Linked DNA regions of Homo sapiens: regions 2, 3 and 4 are each linked to region 1. The links are contacts of gene promoters, found by promoter capture Hi-C in blood cells and fetal thymus (Javierre and others, 2016). All regions are on one chromosome and are shown on one strand. Each heading gives the region's core, a stretch centred on a gene start or on the middle of the fragment in contact. The rest is flanking DNA. Distances are from core to core; before and after follow the strand shown.

Region 1 (3,434 bases), core at 450-2,949:
AGATTCAGGTGCCCCAGTGCCCCAGCAACAGAATGTGGCAGGCACAGACAGGGTCCCCACAAGGGCAAACAAAACAGAAGACGCTGGAAAGTCATGGCTAGAGGCCTGGCTTGTGTTTTTTCTGAGATGGAGTCTCGCTGTTGTCCAGACTGGAGTGAAGTACCGCAATCTCAGCTCACTGCAACCTCCGCCTCCTGGGTTCAAGTGATTCTTCTGCCTCAGCCTCCCAAGTAGCTGGGATTACAGGCACTCACCACCATGCCCAGCTTATTTTTGTATTTTTAGTAGAGATGGGGTTTCACCATGTTGGCCAGGCTGGTCTTGAACTCCTGACCTCAGGTGATCCACCTGCCTCGGCCTCCCAAAGTGCTGGGATTACAGGCGTGAACCACTGCGACTGGCCTTAGAAGCTTGGCTTCTGAAGCCGGATTGGGTTCAAATCCTGTCTCTACTACCAGTGAGGGGTGTGACTTAGAGCAAGTCACTCTCTGGCTCTCTATACTCCAGTTGACTCTGTTTGTAGAACAAAGCCAGAAAAGTTCCGGCCTCTCAGGCTGGAGAGGAGCCCAGCCCCAGCTCCCGGAGCAGCATAGCACCCTCAGAGGCCCTGGTACTTGGCCTACTCGCTTGTGGGTTTAAGTCAGCCAACTCCTTTCTGCTCTTCAGGCCTCAGTTTTCCCATCCTCAAAAATGGGAAACTTGACTGCCTTGCCTCTGTGAAAAAGGGAGGAGAAAGGAAAGTCAACATTTGCTAGGCACCTGTCCTGAGGCCCAGAGGGCCTGTCCTGAAGCCCAAGATGAAGCCGTCAGAAGCAGTGACGCAGGACTCCAATTCCCCTGGGTCTGGTTCCAAATCAACCCGCCAAGCTACCGTCTCTCAATAATTCTATGGAAAAAGCCCTTGGAGAGCTTTTGAAAGTCATGTCCTTTGAAACTCAAGTATCGAGACAAAAGGGGTTCTCCCCTCGCAGTGAGGATTCTCCTGCGCAGCCGAAGCCCCAGCAAGACACTTCCAAACCGGCGCCAACAGCGGCGATGCCCTTTCCACGTTGCTGATGGAAAAGCCACTCCCAGCTCTTCCCGCCACCCCAGGTCCCCGGTGCAGGACAGAGGAGCGTCCCCAGCTGTGCCACCAGCCCGGCCCCCAGCCGACCCGAGTGTGGGGACATCCCCCGCGGAGAATGAAGAACCAACGTACCCCAAAGCTTGGCGGCTCTGCCCGAGCTGCAGCGGCACGGTGGGGGACGCCTCTCTCCCTGGACTCAGCAAAGGCTCCCAAACGTCGTCTCTTCCAAATTCCACCGCACAGCCAGCTCTTTCTCTTCACTGGGAGGGTCCGCAGGGGCTGACTTGCTCCTTAAGGTCCCAAGACTATTAAGCGACACCCGGTGAGGCCGGGAAAGGGGCTCTAAGAGGCATGGACGAGAGTTGGCGGTGACCAAGCCACTGGAAGCTCCTGGAGACTCGAGGTAGAACGAATGTGGGAACAGGGCAGGAGTCCCAGAATGGGATGTTGAGGCTGGGGGTGTCCTGGGGCTACCACAGGGAAGGACCCGGCGCAGAGCTCCCTCTGGAACCCGGCACTGCGGCCCGCGCCCTCTACTCCCCGCGCGCCGGCCGGCAACCCTCGGCGCTGCCCGGTGCAGCCCGCCCGAGCGCACACAATGAGGCGCTTTCAGACGTGGCTGCGGTCCCGAGGTGGCCAGCGGGAGCTAGCGCCGTGGGGGAAGGAAGGAGCCGGTTGGCCCACCCCCGACCGAGGGGCCACGCCTCGGGGGAGGGGCGCCGGCCGAGGGCGGGGCAGGAGGGCCCAGGTGGGCTGGGGCTCTGAGAGGCTCAACTTTTAGCCCAGAATGTCAAAGGGCGCTGGCAGAGTCACCTCTCATCTGACTACAGAGGAACGTTGTACCCCACCCCACCCCAAATCCCCAGAGAAGGGGGGCTCCTGGGAGGACAAAGGCCCTAGTGAAGGAAGTCGAATCTTAATCTTGACCCTCCTCACTCTCGGGGGCATCCTTGCGGCGAGGTGACTTGGAATCCAAACCCTTCCCAAGGCCACGGCACCTGGATGACACATGGACCCGGTGCAGTGTCCCAACTGGGAAGAGCGGAGAGACCAGGTGGCCTTAGGAGCTGGGTCCGCAGCTTTTCCCCTCCTCCTGCGCATTCCCTGCCCTAGCCTAGGCCCAGAGGCGCAGGTTCATAGCAGGTCCAGATAAAGACATGATACGTTTCAATAAATAAGATATTTCCGGCCAGGGCTGGGCGCGGTGGCTCACGCCTGTAATCCCAGCACTTTGGGAGGCCGAGGCGGGCGGATCACGAGGTCAGGAGATCGAAATCATCCTGGCTAACACAGTGAAACCCCGTCTCTACTAAAAATACAAAAAAATTAGCCAGGCCTGGTGGCGGGCACCTGTAGTCCCAGCTACTCGGGAGGCTGAGGCAGGAGAATGGCGTGAACCCGGGAGGCGGAGCTTGCAGTGAGCCGAGATCGCACCACTGCACTCCAGCCTGGGCGACAAAGCGAGACTCCCTCGCAAAAAAAAAAAAAAAAAATCCGGCCAGGCGCGGTGTCTCACGCCTGTAATCCCAGCACTTTGGGGGGCCGTAGTGGGTGGATCACGAGGTCAGGAGTTCGAGACCAGCCTGGCCAACAGGGTGAAACCCCGTCTCTACTAAAAATACAAAAATTAGCCGGGCGTGGTGGCAGGCACCTGTAATCCTAGCTACTCAGGAGGCTAAGGCAGGAGAACTGCTTGAGCCCAGGAAGCGGAGGTTGCAGTGAGCTGAGATTGCACCACTGCACTCCAGCCTGGGCGACAGAGCGAAACTGTTTCAAAAAAAAAAAAAAAAAAAATCCCCTTTACAAATAACAGGGCAGAGCCCAGGCACCTGAAAAGGATGAAGCATTTCTAGGTCTTGTCAAATTAGTGATGGGATCTTAATCAAGAACTCCCTGCTGCTGGGAGAAGAAATAAGCAGTCCTTCCTGGTTGTGGTTTGGCAAGATGAATTAAGATTCTTGACAATGGTCGTAAGCTTTTCGGATTGGTAATTCCTTTCTAGGAGCTATCTTAAGGAAATAAACCAGAAACAAGGATTTATGTACAGGGTTCATATAAGTGTTGTTCATGATTTTGATACTGATTTTTTTTTCAGATGGAGTCTCACTTTTGTAGCCCAGGCTGGAGTGCAATGGCAGGATCTAGGCTCACTGCAACCTCCGCCTCTCGAGTTCAAGTGATTCTCTTGCCTCAGCCTCCTGAATAGCTGGGATTACAGGTGCCCACCACCACGCCAGGCTAATTTTTGTACTTTTAGTAGAGACAGGGTTTCACCATGTTGTCCAGGCTGGTCTCGAACTCCTGAGCTCAGATGTGATCTGCCCGCCTCTGTCTCCCAAAGTGCTCGGATTACAGGCATGAGCCACCG
Region 2 (3,316 bases), core at 522-3,021, 290 kb before region 1:
CGTCGTCGGCGCTGGGCAGGCACACGGCGGACACTGTCTGGGAGAAGCGGGCAGGTGTGGCCAGCTTCAGCAGGGTGATGTCATTGTTCACGGTCAGAATGCTGAACTTGGGGTTCTTGAAGACCTGGGGGTGGGGGCCAGAGTGCCGGGGTGAGGCCCTGGGAGGAGGCAGGACCTGCAGGCTTCGAGGACAGACTCCTTCCCTGGTGCCCGTTAAGGAGCAGTCCATCCCCAGGGCCGGAATGGGAATCACGAGGCCGGCCCGGCCCCACTGGGCGCCTGTCCCTGAAGCAGCCGAGGGGTCTCCCCCCGTGCCCACGGCCCTGCCCTCTGCTGCACGGGGCCTGGGTACCTTGGCGATCTTCAGGACCTGGATGTTCTCCTCGTCAGAGCCCTGGTCAAACTCCCCAGCCACGACCACGTCGGAGGTCCTGGGCAGAGCGTTGTGGGTGAGAGAACATGCCCTGCTCCCCTCCCACCCGACCGGTGCTGGAAGCGGAGCCCAAGGCTGCCCGGTCCTCACCTGACCCCGCAGTGGGCAGCGGTGACCACCCAGTCCTCGCTGATGAGGGAGCCCCCGCAGAAGTGGAAGCCGGTTTTGTCCTGTGAGCAAGATGGGGAGGGTCAGCACCTCCCACCCGGGGGCACCCCCAGCCTGGCCCCTACCCAGGGTGCCCCCCACCTTGCAGAACCCCCTCACCTGCAGGGACACCTGCCAGGGCCAGGAGCCGGGGACGGCGTCCTCCCCATTCACGATCCTGGACAGGCCGCTGAGCACAGGGTGGATGGCGGGGACCCCGCAGCCTGGGGGCGGGAGTGGGCTGAGGGGTGGGTACCACCCACCCAGGTCCTAATGCTCCAGCCTCCTCTCACTCCCAACTCTTTTCCAGTCTCTGGGACCTAGACTGGCTCCCACATCCCCTTCTCTGAGAAGTTGGCCCTGGCTCTCCTCTCCGCAGAGCTGGAATCCCCAGGTACAACTGAGTCCAATGAACTGGGCTGTGGGCTGCTGAGGAATGGGGTGTTGGCCCCACCTCAGTTCGGAGAAGTCACACAGGTGGAGCGTGCGGTGGGCGGCAGCCCCGGCGCTCAGTCTGGGAGGCCAGACTCTGTGGGTTTGAACCTGGCTCCCTCCCTGCCCAGCTAAGCCACTCAGTGTCCCCATCAGCAAAGTGGGGATCACGCTGTTTCTGACCTCACAGGTTTGGTAGAGTGAGCAGGCAGAGCGCCAGCTCTGCGCCTGGCACCCGGGAAGTGCTCCGTGAGCAGGAGTTTAAGAGGGTGAGGCTCGAGGTTCTGAAAGGTTTGGACTGAACGGTGCCAAGCCCCAGCTGCCCACACATTCACCACCCAAACCTGTGCTGGGGCCGCTGACTGTTTGGGGGTTTCCCGAAGGCCTCAGGGCAGCCCCCGGACACCTGCCTCCTCCCCCCGCCTCCTCCCCTGAGAGCCTCAGGTCTGCTGGGGGTGAGGAAGGGGAGCGGGACTCCCCATCTCCTGAGCTCAGAGGCGGCAGCTGAGCCTGGGAGGGAGGCATTGACCTCTCAGCGCCCACGGCAGAGATGGAGCCGGTGACTCGCCCAGGCCCACACTGCGGTGCACAGCTGAACTGGGAGCTGGGACCCTGCTGCCTCTTGCTGGCCTCGGGGCTGGGAGTGAGAGGAGAAAACCCTTCGGCCTCCGCAGGGCCTGGCACTCACCGAAGGTGGTACCCAGGAGGGCCCAGCAGGAGAGGAGCCAGAGGAAAGCCATGGTGCCGCTGGCAGGGGTGTAGGACGCCTGTCTGCCGGTCCCCGTTATAGCCCTGTGTGCCTGCTGTTATCTGGAGACCTTGGGGCGATAATCCCTTCCCTGGGAGTGGGCAAGATGTGTCGGTGCAGGGCTGGCCAGGAAGCCTGGGATGGCAGCAGCTGTGGCCTTAGCTGAGCCGGGCTAACCCAGGTGGCCTTCGACCATTGCCTTTCTCCTCCAGGCCCAGGCTTGGGCAGGGGCCTCCAGGGGCTGAGTCCAGCATCCCCGGGTTTGAGCCCCAGCTGAGTCTCTTGTGCTCTGCAAAGAATTCACTTGATCTTTTCATGGTTTGAAAACCCCTGGGCAGGCCGGGCATGGTGGCTCACGCCTGTAATCCCAGCACTTTGGGAGGCTGAGGCGGATGGATCACGAGGTCAAGAGATCAAGACCATCCTGGCCAACATGGTGAAACTCCGTCTCTACTAAAAATACAAAAAATTAGCCAGGCGTGGTGGCGCACACCTGTATTCCCAGCTACTTGGGAGGCTGAGGCAGGAGAATGGTGTGAACCCGGGAGGCGGAGGTTGCAGTGAGACGAGATTGCGCCACTACACTCCAGCCTTGTGACAGTGAGACTGTCTCAAAAAAGGAAAAAAAACAAAAAAAAAGAAAAAAACCCAATGGGCAATGTGACCAAGTAGAGGAGAGGCTGGGGGAGCAGGCCTGTGCCCCATGGTGTAGCCAGAGGCTGGGGTGCGGGTGCTCGCCGGGTCCCAGGGGATGGCTAAGAAGGCTCAGTGAAGGCCCAGTCGACATCTGTGTTGGTCACTTGGGCTGTGTACAGGGGAGGGGTAGCTACCTGCTGTCCTCACACTGGGCCACCCCTGCACACAGGCGCCAGCACACCTGGGCCCTGGAGCTGAGCAGGTGGCATCAGAGGGCAAGACTGGGCCTAGGGCCCGGCCTGGGGGCCTGGCATCGCCCTGATGAGAACTGATGGAGGCTGAGCCTCAGGGCAGAGCATGGGCGGGGACACCTGGTTCCTCGTGCGGGTGGCAGCATGGGTGGTGGAGCCCTTTCTCAGCAACTGGGAAACGGGGGAGGGAGAAATTTTGGATTGAGGCTGCCAGATGGAGGGCAAGTTCCCCAAAATGCACAGGAAAAGGTGCCTCGTGGCTGTTTTCAATTCCACCACACTGATGCCTGCAGCATGTGTGTTTACAGCACGGGTTGTGGGGTCAGGCAGCTGTGGAGCCGTGGGCAAATGACTTGCCCTCTCTGATCCTGTATGTAATTGAGGATGCTTAGAGTATGGGTCCCATGACAAAAGGAAGAGCCTTCTTGAGCACCAGGACCAGGCCAAGCATGCAATCCACGCTGGCGGGGCCCCTACATTCCTCTTTCTTGAGTGAATCACCTGTTCAGGCCCTTCGCTCATTCTAGAAGATTGTCTGAGGACAGAGGGGTTGGCGGGCACCAGCAGGACGGAGCATGGCCTGGTCGGGATGAGACGCACCCACCTCTGCATGCACATGGGCTCTTCCTGCCAGCCAGTGCCCACCAGGCCCACGGGAACAGCTGAACA
Region 3 (3,424 bases), core at 216-2,715, 260 kb after region 1:
ACATACCTGAGACTGGGTAATTCATAAAGGAAAGAGGTTTAATTGACTTACAGTTCTGCATGTCTGGGTCTGGGAAGTTCTCAGGAAACTTACAATCATGGTGGAAGGGGAAGCAGGCACTTCTTACATGGTAGCAGGTGAGAGAGAGTATGTATGAGTGTAGGAAAAACTACCATTTATAAAACCATTGGATCTAGTGAGAATCTATTCACTATCACAAGAACAGCATGGGGAAAACTGCCCCTATAATCCAATCACTTACCTCCCTCAACACATGGGGATTACAATTTGAGATGAGATCTGGGTGGGGACACAGAGCCAAACCATATCAGAGGGGGCAACACAGGAAGGCTGGCAGCTTGGTGTCTGAGGTCTTTTCCAACCCCGAGTCCAGTTTTATAAATGGGATGGGGAGAGGAATCCTGTGTTTTGTGAGTTGTGGGCCTAAGGAATATTATCGATGACACCCAGGGAAGAGCTGATTGTTAAGCACTTGCAGGTCCTTTGTATTGTTAAGGACAATCCAAGTCAGTGAAATAATCTCAGCCTCTGAGGACCAGTAGCTTTTCCATTAACACAAAAGCACCAAAGGTCTTCCCTGCTCAACACTGTGGTGCAGGAGGCCAGTGGCTATCCTACCATGTCTTTTTCCTTAACACCTCTTTCCTCTTTTCCCACAAACTTGAGCTTCCCCTGCCTTCTATATAAACTGCATTAATGAGTGGCTGTCTTGTGCTACCCAGAGGGAGTAAGATAATCTCTCTGCCACACCAGCCCATATGGTGCAGAGGATGATGCAGAAAATACACAAGGAATAAACACAGAAATATGATGATTCAGAAAGGATGAGTGCTATGAGGTAATAAATCGGACCAAAGGAATAGAAAATGTGTTAGTTCGTTCTCATACTGCTATAAAGAACTGCTCAAGACTGAGTAATTTATAAAAGAAAGAGGTTTAATTGACTCTGAGTTCTGCATGGCTGGGGAGGCCTCAGGAAGCTTACAATCATGGTGGAAGGTGAACGGGAAGCAAGGCACCTTCTTCACAAGGTGGCAGGAGGGATAGTGAATACAGGAAGAACTACCACTTATAAAACCATCGGATCTCGTGAGAACTCACTTACTATCATGAGAACAGTATGGGGGAAACTGCACCCATGAATCAATGACCTCCACCTGGTCTCTCTCTTAACACATGGGGTTATGGGGATTACAAGGGGGATTCAAGATGAGATTTGGGTGGGATCACAGAGCCTAACCATATCAGAGAGGGATGAGGAAGCACCATCACTAAGCTACAGTGGTCAGGAAAGGGCACTTTAAGAAGACGTGATTAGAGTTGGTATCTAAATGAAGGAGGCAGCCACCACATATGTGGTGTAAAGGTATTCTCGGCAGAGGAAATGCCCAGTGCAAAATTCTGAGACTTAGTGAGCCTGCCATGCTAACTGGACAAAATCGTGGTCAGTGGAGTCACAGGAGGTGCTTGGGTAGGTATACACCTGCAAGGACCAGGGCATGGACAACCTCATGGGCCAGGAGAGCATAGATTTGAGTCTCAGTGTAAGTTGTAGGCACTGGAGGGCTTTGAGCAGCATGGCCCATGGTCTTATTTATGGTTTTTAAATGCTGACATTGGCCTCACAGTCGTAAAGGTGAGACAGTTCAGGGAGGAGATAGGGAAAGGGTTGATTACTTAGCCTTTGTGGTCCTTCCAACTCTCAGTCCAGGCTTGTGATGGGGCAGAGAGGACACAGAACAGGGAAGAGAATCAGGGATCCTCGAAAAGTGTTCACATAATTTTGTCTGGGGCTGGTCCTCACTGAAGAGTGTTGGCTTTGACCTGTAAACCCACTTGAGACACCCTTCAGAGTCAAGGTTAAGGTGGCTTCCCGGTGGACACCCCAAGGGAGTTTGGGGTGAGAAGGAAGCTTGTGCTCTCAGGGTTAAATATAATTTGCATTTACATCATGCACATTTTAAAACTGCAATCCTAAACATTGTAATCCTATCAGGTCTTCTTTCGAGATGTGTAATTATTAATACATTAAATTATGGCAATAAAACCAATAGAGAAACAAATAAAATTATTTAAAAAGTAAGTTGGAATAAAATAGTTGCTGTTTTCCTGAATTATTTTAGAGGCTTTGCTAAAAACAACATAAAACTGTAATTATGCTACTTACAAATAGAATAAAATGGAAGTAATTAATTTATTAGTGTTGTTATTGAAATAATCTACAGGCAGAGCACATTATGAAGCAGAATCCTGTCTTTTTTCATCTTATACATGATATAATCACTCACTGGCAATAAAACTAAAATAGAAAATATGAAAATTATTGTAGAGCAGAGGAAAAGGGCTCTTGTGGTTGTGGTTGTGTAGTAGCATGCTCAGTGGGAGGTGGGATCTATCCAGGGGTGACTCACTTTCGTTTTCAGGCTGAGTGGACAGTGCTTGGTGTCCAACATTTCTTGTGGCCAGAGGAGAATGGGGAGGATGTGTCCAGCCAGGGAAGCTCCCTGGTGAAAAGGATTCCTAGGCAATTGTGTCCTGGATTTCTGGAACAGGGGAAGAGCAGAGGTTTCTTTTCTTAGGACCTGTCCCTTTAAGACTCTCTAAACATCTGAGGTCTGACAAGGGGAGGAGGTGGAGGACCAGGGCCTGGACCAGTGGAACTGTGGTCTAGTGGTCATGTTGAATAGAAGGAAGGTCCTGAGCTGTGGCAGCCAGCACCAGGAGCATCAGGTCATGCTCTTTGTGGACCTTGTGAAGGATCTGTTGAGTCAGGGTGGAGTTGACCTGAGGGAGGCCTCTTTCTCCTGGGATCCTGACCTTGGGAGGAATGCTGGGTCTCCCATGAGTCACAGCTTGGTGTTCCTCTTTAAAATACTTTTTAATTTTTAATTTATTTTATAAATTTTTTTGTGAGTACATAATAGTTGTATAAATTTATGGGATACATGAGATGTTTTGATAAAAACATGCAATGTGAAATAAGCACATCATGGAGAATGGGGTATCCATCCCCTCAAGCATTTATCTTTTGAGTTATAAACAATATAATTGCACTCTTTACTTTAAAATGTACAATTAAGTTGTTATTTAGTATAGTCACCCAATCAAAAGTAAGCCTTATTAATTCTATTTTTTTTGTAACCATTAACCTTCGCCACCTCCCCTCAACTCCCCACTAGCTTCGCAGCTTCTGGTAACCATCTTTCTACTTTCTGTGTCCATGAGTTCAATTATTTTGATTTTTAGATTCCACATTAAGTGAGAACATGCAATGTTTGTCTTTCTGTGCCTGGCTTATTTCACTTACCATGACGACCTCTGGTTCCATCCATATTGTTGCAAATGATGGGATCTTATTCTTTTTTATGGTAGAAGGTGCTCCTCTTTCTTTGGGGATGTGGAC
Region 4 (3,638 bases), core at 866-3,365, 280 kb after region 1:
ATACACAAATGATTTCAAAACCTAATCAGTTCTGGTTCCAAAATGGCAGTGTAGAAGCAAGCTGGCTTCACATCCCTACCCAGAAAACAAAAAATAAATATACAGTGCTGAGATTATCACCAGCAATATCCCAGAATTCATATATGGGAATGAGACAGTTCCCAGGGCCATGGAGAAGTGGAAAAAATCTGAGTATACAGTAAGATAATTGGACTTCCATATCCACAACACCCTTCCCTCTAATCTGTCTACCACCAAGCCATGCAGGAAATTTCCCCTTGATTCAGGGTTTCTGCACTGGAAAAAGTGAGGTCAAGATGGACCACCAGCTTCCACACCACCTTGATTCACTGGCAGGATAACATAGTGACATAGTGAGACCCAGTTTCTTAGACATAGTGAGACCCAATTTCATAGGGCCATAAAGACCTAGTAACACAGTGACAGTGAGACTCAGTTTCTAAGACAAATAACCCTCACAAAAAACCCCCAAAATATAGAAAATCAACAAAATGGAAAGTTGGAAAGAAAGTTTTAAAAGATACATAAAATTGACAAACATTTAGCTAGACTAAGAAAAAAAGAGAGAAGACCCAAATAAATAAAACTAGGAACAACAAAAGGAGACATAACAACTGAGGCTACAGAAATATAAAGAATCATTAGAGACAATTCTGAATGATATGCGAACAAATTGGAAAAATCTAAAAGAAATGGATAAATTCCTGACCCACCAAGACTGAACCATGAAGAAATGGAAAACCTTAACAAACCAATGATAAGTAATGAGATCGAAGCCATAATAAAAAGTCTCCTATTGGCCAGGCGTGGTGACTCACGCCTGTAATTCCAGCACTTTGGGAGGCCGAGACAGGCAGATCACAAGGTCAGGAGATCGAGACCATCCTGGCTAACACGGTGAAAACCTGTCTCTACTAAAAATACAAAAAATAAATTAGCCGGGCGTGGTGGCGGGCGTCTGTAGTCCCAGCTACTCAGGAGGCTGAGGCAGGAGAATGGCGTGAACCCGGGAGGTGGAGCTGGCAGTGAGCTGAGATCGTGCCACTGCACTCCAGCCTGGGCGACAGAGTGAGACTCCGTCTCAAAAAAAAAAAAAAAAAAAAAAAAGAGTCTCCTATAAAAGAAAAGCCCAGTACCTGATGTCTTCGCTGCTGAATTCTACCACACATTTAAAGAGTAACTAATACCACTTCTACTCAAACTCTTCAAAAAAATTGAAGTGGAGAGAACACTTCCAAACTCATTCTATGAGGTGGACATTAACCTGATACCAAAACCAGACAAGGACATGACAAAAAAAGAAAACTACAGGCCAATATCACTGATGAATGTAGATATAAACATTCTCAACAAAATACTAGCAAACCAAATTCAACCACACATTAAAAAGATCATTCATCATGACCAAATGGGATTCATCCTATGGATGTAAGTATGGCTCAACATATGCAAATCAATAAACATGATACTTCACATTAATAGAACCAAGAACAAAACCCATATGATCACTTCAATAGATGTCAAAAAAGCATTTGATAAAATTCTACATCCCACCAGGCACAGTGGCTCACACCTGTAATCCCAGCATTTTGGGAGGCCGAGGAGGGCAGATTGCTTGAGCCCAGGAGTTCCAAACCAGCCTGGGCAATACAGTGAAACCTTGTCTCTACAAAAAAGACAAGAATTAGCCGAGTGTGGTGGCAAGGGCCTGCAGTCCCAGCTACTTGGGAGGCTGAGGTGGGATGATTGCATGAGCCCAGGAAGTTGAAGCTGTAGTGAGCTGTGATCGTACCACTGCACTCCAGCCTGGGCGATAGAGCCAGACCCTGTCTCAAAAAAAAAAATAAAACAAAATAAAAAAATAAAAATAAAAATAAAGGAAAAGAAAAGGAAAAACGAAAAAAAAATCTATATATTTTTCATGACAAAAGTCCTCAAAAAAACTGATTATAGAAGGAACATACCTCAAAATAATCAAGGGCATATGTGACAGACCCACAGCTAATGTACTGAATGGGGAAAAATTGAAAGCCTTTCCTTTAAGATCTGGAAGAAGACAGGGATGCTTACTTTCACCACTTTAATTCACCATAATACTGGAAGTCCTGGCTAGAGCAATCAGGCAAGAGAAAAAAATCGAGGGCATCCAAATTAGAAAAGAAGAAGTCAAATTAGCCTTATTCACAGATGACATGATCTTATATTTAGAAAAAACCAAAAGACTCCACTGAAAAAGTGTTAGAACTGATAAATGCATTCAGCATAGCTGCAGGATACAAAATCATACAAAACCAGGAGCATTTATGTATGACAACAGTGAGTAATCTGAAAAAGAAAATAAGAAAACAATTCCATTTACAATAGCTACAAAGAATATAAAATACCTAGGAATCAATTTAGTCAAGTGAAAGATCTATACAAGAAAAAGTATAAAAGAGTGATAGAAAAATTGAAGAGGACACAAAAAAGGAAGGAGAGTTCATGCTCATGGATTGGAAGAATTAATATTGTTAACATGGCAATACTACCCAAAGCCATTTACAGATTCAATGCAATCTCTATGAAAATATCAACGACATTCTTCACAGAAATAGAAAAAAACTGCTAAAATATACATAGAACTACAAAAGACCCCGAATAGCCAAAGCAATCCTGATCAAAAAGAACAAAGCTAGAGGCATCATATTATCTGACTTCAAAATATACTAGAAAGCTATCTTAATAAAAACATCTTGGTACTGGAATAAAAACAGACACATGGAAGAATGGAACAGAATAGAGAATTCAGATATAACCCCATATATTTACAGCCAACTCATTTTTTTTCTTTCTTTCTTTCTTTCTTTCTTTCTTTCTTTCTTTCTTTCTTTCTTTCTTTCTCTTTCTTTCCTTTTTTTTTTCTTTTTTTAAATGAGACAGTCTCATTCTGTTGCCCAGACTGGAGTGCAGAGGGGTGATCTCGGCTCACTACAACCTCTGCCTTGTGGGTTCATGTGATTCTTGTGCCTCAGTCTCCTGAGTAGCTGGGACTACAGGCTTGTAACACCATGCCCGGCTAATTTTTGTATCATTAGTAGACATGGTGTTTTGTCATGTTGGCCAGGCTTGTCTTGAACTCCTGGCCTCATGCGATCCATCTGCCTTGGCCTCTCAAAGTGCTGGGATTACAGGTGTGAGACACCGCACCTGGCCTATAATCAACTCATTTTCAACAAAGAAGATATAGTGGGGAAAGGACAGTCTTCTCAATAAATGGTCTTGGGAAAACTGGATAGCCATATGCAGAAGAATGAAAGCAGACCCCTGTCTGTCACTCTATACAGAAATAAAATCAAAATGGATTGAAGACCTCAATATAAGACCCAAAACTATAAAACTACCAGAAGAAAACTTTGAGGAAATGCTCCAGGACATTGATCTGGGCAAATATTTTTTTGTGTAAGACTTCAAAAGCACAGGCAACAAAAGCAAAAATAGACAAATGGGACTACATCAAACTAAAAAGCAGCAAAAGAAACAGTCAACACAACGAAGAGATAACCCACAGAATGGGGGAAAATATTTGCAAACTATGCATCTGACTAGGATTAACAACCAGAATATATAAGGAACTAGAA

The links. The method cuts DNA at HindIII sites, captures the fragments that hold promoters and counts their contacts. A CHiCAGO score of 5 or more calls a contact.
Region 2: the fragment with the promoter of CTRB2 here is called in contact with the fragment with the promoter of CHST6 in region 1 in 6 of 17 cell types (endothelial precursors, M1 macrophages, M0 macrophages and 3 more); the score reaches 9.8 in endothelial precursors.
Region 3: a contact is called between a fragment that was not itself captured here and the fragment with the promoter of CHST6 in region 1, in 6 of 17 cell types (total CD4 T cells, naive CD8 T cells, total CD8 T cells and 3 more). The highest score is 9.3, in total CD4 T cells.
Region 4: a fragment that was not itself captured here is called in contact with the fragment with the promoter of CHST6 in region 1 in 1 of 17 cell types (total B cells); the score reaches 5.5 in total B cells.

What each region holds. Positions count from the first base shown.
Region 1 is chr16:75,493,742-75,497,175 of GRCh38, forward strand. CHST6 (carbohydrate sulfotransferase 6) reads right to left here and starts at 1,700. Exons shown (of 3, transcript NM_021615.5): 1 at 1,199-1,700. RefSeq lists an enhancer at 1,094-1,273 and a silencer at 1,574-1,903. The HindIII fragment of the contact is 1,836 bases long and covers 1,204-3,039 here.
Region 2 is chr16:75,205,390-75,208,705 of GRCh38, forward strand. CTRB2 (chymotrypsinogen B2) reads right to left here and starts at 1,772. Exons shown (of 7, transcript NM_001025200.4): 1 at 1,701-1,772; 2 at 701-804; 3 at 524-603; 4 at 353-431; 5 at 1-124. The coding sequence starts at 1,752. RefSeq lists a silencer at 1,362-1,581 and an enhancer at 3,254-3,316. The HindIII fragment of the contact is 10,617 bases long and covers 1-3,316 here.
Region 3 is chr16:75,755,968-75,759,391 of GRCh38, forward strand. No RefSeq gene overlaps it. Among named protein-coding and RNA genes, the nearest start is that of CPHXL, 31 kb to the left of the region's middle. RefSeq lists an enhancer at 2,297-2,346. The HindIII fragment of the contact is 932 bases long and covers 1,000-1,931 here.
Region 4 is chr16:75,776,076-75,779,713 of GRCh38, forward strand. All of the region lies in intron 2 of LOC105371348 (a long non-coding RNA gene), which reads left to right. Among named protein-coding and RNA genes, the nearest start is that of CPHXL, 51 kb to the left of the region's middle. The HindIII fragment of the contact is 9,840 bases long and covers 1-3,638 here.